Regions from separate parts of the Homo sapiens genome. Here region 2 is linked to region 1. The links are contacts of gene promoters, found by promoter capture Hi-C in human tissues and cell types (Jung and others, 2019). All regions are on one chromosome and are shown on one strand. Each heading gives the region's core, a stretch centred on a gene start or on the middle of the fragment in contact. The rest is flanking DNA. Distances are from core to core; before and after follow the strand shown. Region 1 holds the start of BBIP1 (BBSome interacting protein 1). Region 2 has its middle 48 kb from the start of GPAM.

Region 1 (2,853 bases), core at 253-2,752:
CATCCAAGAGACACCCGATATATTCAAACTTTCAGTAAGTATTTACCAAAATAATATCATGTGCATGGTGAAAATGACGGGAAGACGAATCTGATACAAACCATTCTATTTAGGTGCAGACATGGTAGTGAAGCTAAAAACATAAGCGCTATTATATATATATAACATACTGATTGTCATAAAAGATGTACAAAAAATGCTAAACTCAGAGGAAATTACTTCCTGCTGGGAAGAATCTGGAAACACATCTCCACGGGTAACAGAATCAGATACAGAATCACAAAAGGTGACTGCTACAACAGATTTCAGTAATTAACAGCAAAGAAACAAGAGTAGTTCATTTTGGCTGGCGTGTAAGTACTAAGGAAGCAGAAATTAAGTCGAGAAGGTAGGTTTGCATCTGTATTGTTGACTGGCTGGATATTAACCATTTTCAATTTTACCTGAAAGTTCTGGTCTTTTTGCTGCAGCTTTAAGCATCCAACCCGGTATTACCAAGATGACTTAGAGTTCTTGACTCAAGCATACAGAAGAAACTACAAGATAATGTATGATAACTTTGTAAAGGGCCATATAAAAGCAATACAGTATTTTCAAAAATCTTCAACACGTTGTTTAAGAAACTGTAGACCTGCAGGAATCCCACCACCAGAACCGCAGTCAAAGCTTACAAAGACTCAAAGGAGAGACGCGGAAAGGGGGGAAAAATCAGAATGGGAAGGCAGGTGGCAGGGGAAAAAGATTGAGGTCCTGCCCTGGTGGTAGGGGCTCATCTTTTCCTTTTATAGGTGAAGGTGGAAAATGATTTTCTGAAGTTCCCGAATTCTCCTCCCTCCAAAGGCCAAGGAGTGAAAGTACTTAATAGGAACTTGCGGAGGCGTGGTCAAGAGCTCCGTTTTGCCGGAGTTAGGAGCTCCGCCCCGAGGTCCCCGCCCATTCCCCGCTGGGGTCCTCCCGGCCGGGCTGCCTCTGGCTGGGTTAGGGCGGCCTGTAGAGCGGCCTCACCCCACAGGGAGCCTCACGGGGGCGGGCCGCCGCCAGGCCAGCCCGGAAAAAAACCGCCTTCCAACGGAAGCGGCCCTGAGCCCCGCTCGCCATTTCAGCGCTCTGTCCCACAGGGACCGTCCGGCCCGGGTCCGGCCCACTGGTTGGGGTCCACGGACTCACCTCACTTTGCAACTAAGGTCAAAAATAAGCATTCCCTGGGGCACGGGCGGCCAGGCTATTAACACCCTTCCGCCATGACCCAATTCGGAAGTGCCAAATGCAACTTCCGGGCAGGAGAGGGAATTTCGGAGCCCTAAACTGTTGTCCATCTCCGTAAGTGACCAGACGTCTCAGTAAAATAAGGGCCAGGAAACTGGACGTGTAATCCGGAGTATGAATTAACTTGTCTAACATGGGATGTGTGGTCACCCACGGTACCTCTTTGGGCTTACTTACAGATGCATCCCTTCCCAGACGGCTCAGCTGTTGCCCCGGGTAACGGTGAGACTGGCGAAGGAAAAAAATCTACGTCACCCTGGAAACAGGAAGCCAGGAATCTCCTTTTGCCATTATCAGTTATGGCCGCCTTAGCTTCAACAGTAACTTCCGATCGGGGAGTTGTCACTCTACCCTGCTGGAGGCTTACTCTGTAGCCCGGCTAGCCAGAGGCGCCCAGTGGGCGGGAGACGGCGTAGAGGAACTGAGGAAAGGACAAGGGCGGAGAGAGAGAAGCTGGCGGCACTGCCCGTCTCTGATTGGGCAGCTTCTCTTGCCCCGGTTCCGCCCATTTTTCTTGCCTAGCGAGTGACGGGCCCACGGCAGAGGGGTGGGGCGGGGAGGCTGGAGCGAGAGTAGTGGCGGGGCGGGCGGGGCGGGGCGAGTGGGGGAGGGGCGGGCGGGGGGCGGCGGTTGGGCAGCGTCGCTTCTTAGGAGGAGGAGGAAGAGGAGGAAGGAGGGCGAGCGAGGAGGATGGCGGAGTCGGGGCTCCTGACGGTAACTCGGGGCCGATGAGGCGGAGGGTGTCTGTTGGTCGGTTCTTCCTGCCTGCCTTCCTGTCCGTCGGGCAGTCGGGCTGGCTGTCGGTAGGGGGAGGCCCCGTGCGCCCTGACAGGCGCGAGCCGGCAGCGCCGGGGCGAGGCCCGAGGGGCCGGGGCCCTGGGAGGCGCCGCCGCCGCCGCTTTCCTGGTTGCTGTCTCCGGGAGTGCGGGGCCCTTGGAGCCGGCTCGCGTGGGAGCCTGCAGCCCGGCGCGGAGAGGAAGGCGGTCGGGTGTGACAGCGGCCGGGGCCGGGCCTGCGGCGGCGGCGGCGGGCGGCCCGGACAGCGCCTGGGCGACGGCGAGCCGGCGCGAGGGCGCGGGCCGGGGGCCCCCGGCGGACAGTCTCTCTCCTCTCGGCTCCCTGGGCCCCCGGGCCCAGTCCGCAGGGCGCCCCGAGTCGTGTAAATCGTTGGCGAGGGCCCGGGCGCAGCGGCGGTCATACAGGGTGGGGTCTCTTCTCGCCCCCTCCCTGGAGTCCACCTTGCTCTCCCGTTCTCCTCTCCCTAAAAACCCTTGAGTGAAGAGTGCTGGATCGGCTCTGGGTGTGTTGCCTAGCGAAGCGAGTTGTAGCCCTTCGAGACCGCCTCGTAGAACATGCCCGATGGCAACCTCTCCCCGTGATAGCACAGCTTTTAGGGAGAGAGGAAAAGTAGTCTCACTCTTCCCCGACTTCCCCAGGCTCATAACACAAGAGGCTTTGGGGCAAGACGATTTTTCCCCCAGCACCTCAATATCCATTGTTTTTGTACCATCCCCCTCCCCCCATGCCTAGGTGGAAGAGTAATGACTCCAAAGCATTAACTTGCCTTTCTCTTTATTTCTTTTCTTT
Region 2 (2,853 bases), core at 219-2,718, 1.2 Mb after region 1:
AGCTCAAGTTTATGTCTAACTTCACTGGAGCAGAGCTGATATGTGGTAAGTCATTCATAAATCGGGGCTGAAAAACAGAAGGGAGAGGGAGGAGAATGCTGGATCCTCAGACCTGTTAAAGATCCTGACAGAAAAGACCCAAAGTCAAAATATGGGCAACAGAAGGAGGCAGCAGGAGGAAACTGAAGTGCAGACATTAAAAGAAATTCTGTCTGTGCTGAAGGCTTCTTTGAAGCTTTGACAAGGAGAAATACTTGCTCTTTGCTCCTTGCCTGCTCTTTGACAAGCAGCCTTGAAGCAGTTTTGTAACCTTAAGAGGAGCCTGTGACTACCAGAGAGTGGAAAGCAGTGGTTTCTGAGAAGTGGCCAAGGGAGAAGAGAAAAGCCCAAAGGCACATACACATGTGTGCACACACACACAGGCACACTGGCACACACACACACACACACACAGAGCTCAGCAGGCTGCCTGTGATCTGTGCTTCAACACACTGGCACTACAAAAACTCAAACCTGAATCTGCTCAAGCCTCCCGATTCAAGTTCTAGGTTACAGGAAATACGGGGGACAGAGGAACATGCTAAACAGGGCCCCAGGGATACAAACAGCAAATGTGAGGTATGGAAACCATAGAAGAGATGACCACATTGTGTAAACAATTACATTGTAAGGAAAGAAAGAGAGAGAAAAACTACAGTTCAAATGAAATTGCATGCAATGTGTGGATTTTATTTGGATCCTGAGTTGAACAAACCAACTGGTAAAAAAAAAAAAAGAAAAGAAAAGAAAATTGAGGCAATTGATCATTGAACACTGACTGGAATTACTGTTGATGTGTTTAGGTGTGATAATGAGATTGTGACTAGGTTTTTTTTTTAAAGAGTCATTATCCTTTAGAGCTGCCTGCTGAAATACTTACGGATGAAATGAGATGATGTCAGAGATTTACTATGAAATACTCCAGTAGTGGGAGAGTGGAGAGGGTATGGACAGAATGAAATTGGCCCTAAGTTGGCAAATGTTGAAGATGGATGTTGGGATCATGGTACTTTGTTGTTCTCTCCACTTTTGTACATGTTTGGAATTTTCCATGATGAACAGAAGTTTAAAAAAAAAAAAAAAACTCTACCGAGGGGACTCCCAGCTCCACCACTGACCGGCTGGGGCCCTCCCAACCATTCCTGGCTTCCCTGAGCCTCAGTGTCCCCACGGGTAGGGGCTCCTGCCTGCAGGGAGTAGTGTCTAGCAAGAACTCCATCCCTGTTCATTATTTCTGCTATTTGTTTATGAGTGTTTACTCTCTGTTTCTCTTGGGACAGTCTCAAAGGAGCATCAAATTAATTGATTATCCTCCAACAGGGCGCAGGTATTTTTTGCTTCTTCCAAGAAGCTTGCTTGATACCCAACTCGGCTGAAGTGGGCGTCTCCCCAGGATCATCCTGACACTCTGCAGGGGCATCCCCCATTAGACTGAGCTGTCCTCGGCACCTAGCATGCCGTAAGCACTCAGTAAGTACTATTTGACCAACCAAATGAATGAACTCTGCATCCCTGGCTTTTCAGGGTCCCACTTTGCTGAAAGAAGTCCAAAAGATACGATGCAGAAATCTGCCTTCTCAGCATTACTCTGTCTCTGCTTTGCTGTGTGGTCCTGAGCAAGAATCTCAACCTCTCTGAGCCTCTTAAGTCACTCTTCCTGATGGCCATGCTGTGACAGGAAATGGATGGAAATCTGACCATTGCCCATTGCCTCCCAGTTTCAGGTGAACCTGCCTTTGTAACACAACATTGCTTGGGGGTGAGGCCTGTACTGAAGGGAACTGCCCAAATGGCCAGCCCGAAGCAGCTCCCATGGCCTCAGCTTGAAAGGCACCACCACATCCAACCCACCCACCTCCCCTCTCTGCTAGATTCCCTCGTGGTCCACAGAGACTCTGCACAAAGTCCTCGGGCTCTCAACGACTTTCATCAATGAGACTCTCATTGTGATAAAAATCACTCACCGATGACATTTAAGAACAAATAGGTTAACATTTCAGACAAGCCCATAACACAACAAACCCCATGAGGGATCCTTTTCAGACAGGGGAATTGGCTGCTAGAAACCACCAAGTAAGCGACGTCTTCTGACTGCCAGAATTGCAGCTTTAACAGCTGGGAGAAGAAAACACAGCCTGCCAATGTGATTTTACCAATGGTCCAGCATGCCTATAACCCATGTAAGTATGGCTGAAAACCCACACAAGAACTTCGGGCAGCTCCATACCCAGGTGAGCAATATTCAGAGATTCTGGCGGTGACAATCACATGAACTGCAACTTATGCAGATTATGACACCTGCACCTGCAGCTGTGGAGACCTTCATGGATCCTGTGGGGCACACAGGCCCCCAGCAGCTCTGGGTCCTCGGCCCAGGACACAGAGGAAAGGCCCAGCCCAAGGCTGTGGCTGAACAGTGTCTGGACAGAAGAGCACAGCTGTTTGGGGGGATCTGATGGCCGGTCCCCCTGGATCCTCCAGAGAGCTTGGCAGGCGATACCACAGCTAAAGGCCAGAATGGAATAAGGAAAACATTTCCCCTCCGTTCCTTGGCCTAGAACAGCCTAGAGGAAAGGGCTTTGGGGGCCAGGAGCAGAGCCAGCTTCCTGGGTTGGTTTCCTAGTTCTAGAACACTGGCAGCCCAGGTGGCTACTGGGCCAAACCCTTGTTTAATGTGGCTCCTCTGTGCCTGTCTGAATGCTTCCCCAAGCTTCCAAGACCAGCTCATTGCCCTCTCCTTCCTCTTCCTCTCCTCCCTCCACACCCAGCATCCCCAGCCTCCCAGCTCTGCTCTGATCCCATTTTGCACACCAG

Evidence for each region. The method cuts DNA at HindIII sites, captures the fragments that hold promoters and counts their contacts. A contact is called where the count stands out against the background at its distance.
Region 2: a fragment that was not itself captured here is called in contact with the fragment with the promoter of BBIP1 in region 1 in 1 of the 25 tissues and cell types used here (dorsolateral prefrontal cortex).

The regions. Positions count from the first base shown.
Region 1 is chr10:110,917,678-110,920,530 of GRCh38, forward strand. It overlaps BBIP1 (BBSome interacting protein 1), which reads right to left and starts at 1,503. Exons shown (of 4, transcript NM_001195305.3): 1 at 1,444-1,503; 2 at 444-536. The coding sequence starts at 480. It overlaps SHOC2 (SHOC2 leucine rich repeat scaffold protein), which reads left to right and starts at 1,927. Exons shown (of 9, transcript NM_007373.4): 1 at 1,927-1,980. RefSeq lists silencers at 837-996, 1,847-2,286, 2,297-2,386 and enhancers at 1,128-1,667, 1,357-1,556, 1,577-1,626. The HindIII fragment of the contact is 6,231 bases long and covers 1-2,853 here.
Region 2 is chr10:112,134,157-112,137,009 of GRCh38, forward strand. No RefSeq gene overlaps it. Among named protein-coding and RNA genes, the nearest start is that of GPAM, 48 kb to the right of the region's middle. The HindIII fragment of the contact is 3,996 bases long and covers 1-2,853 here.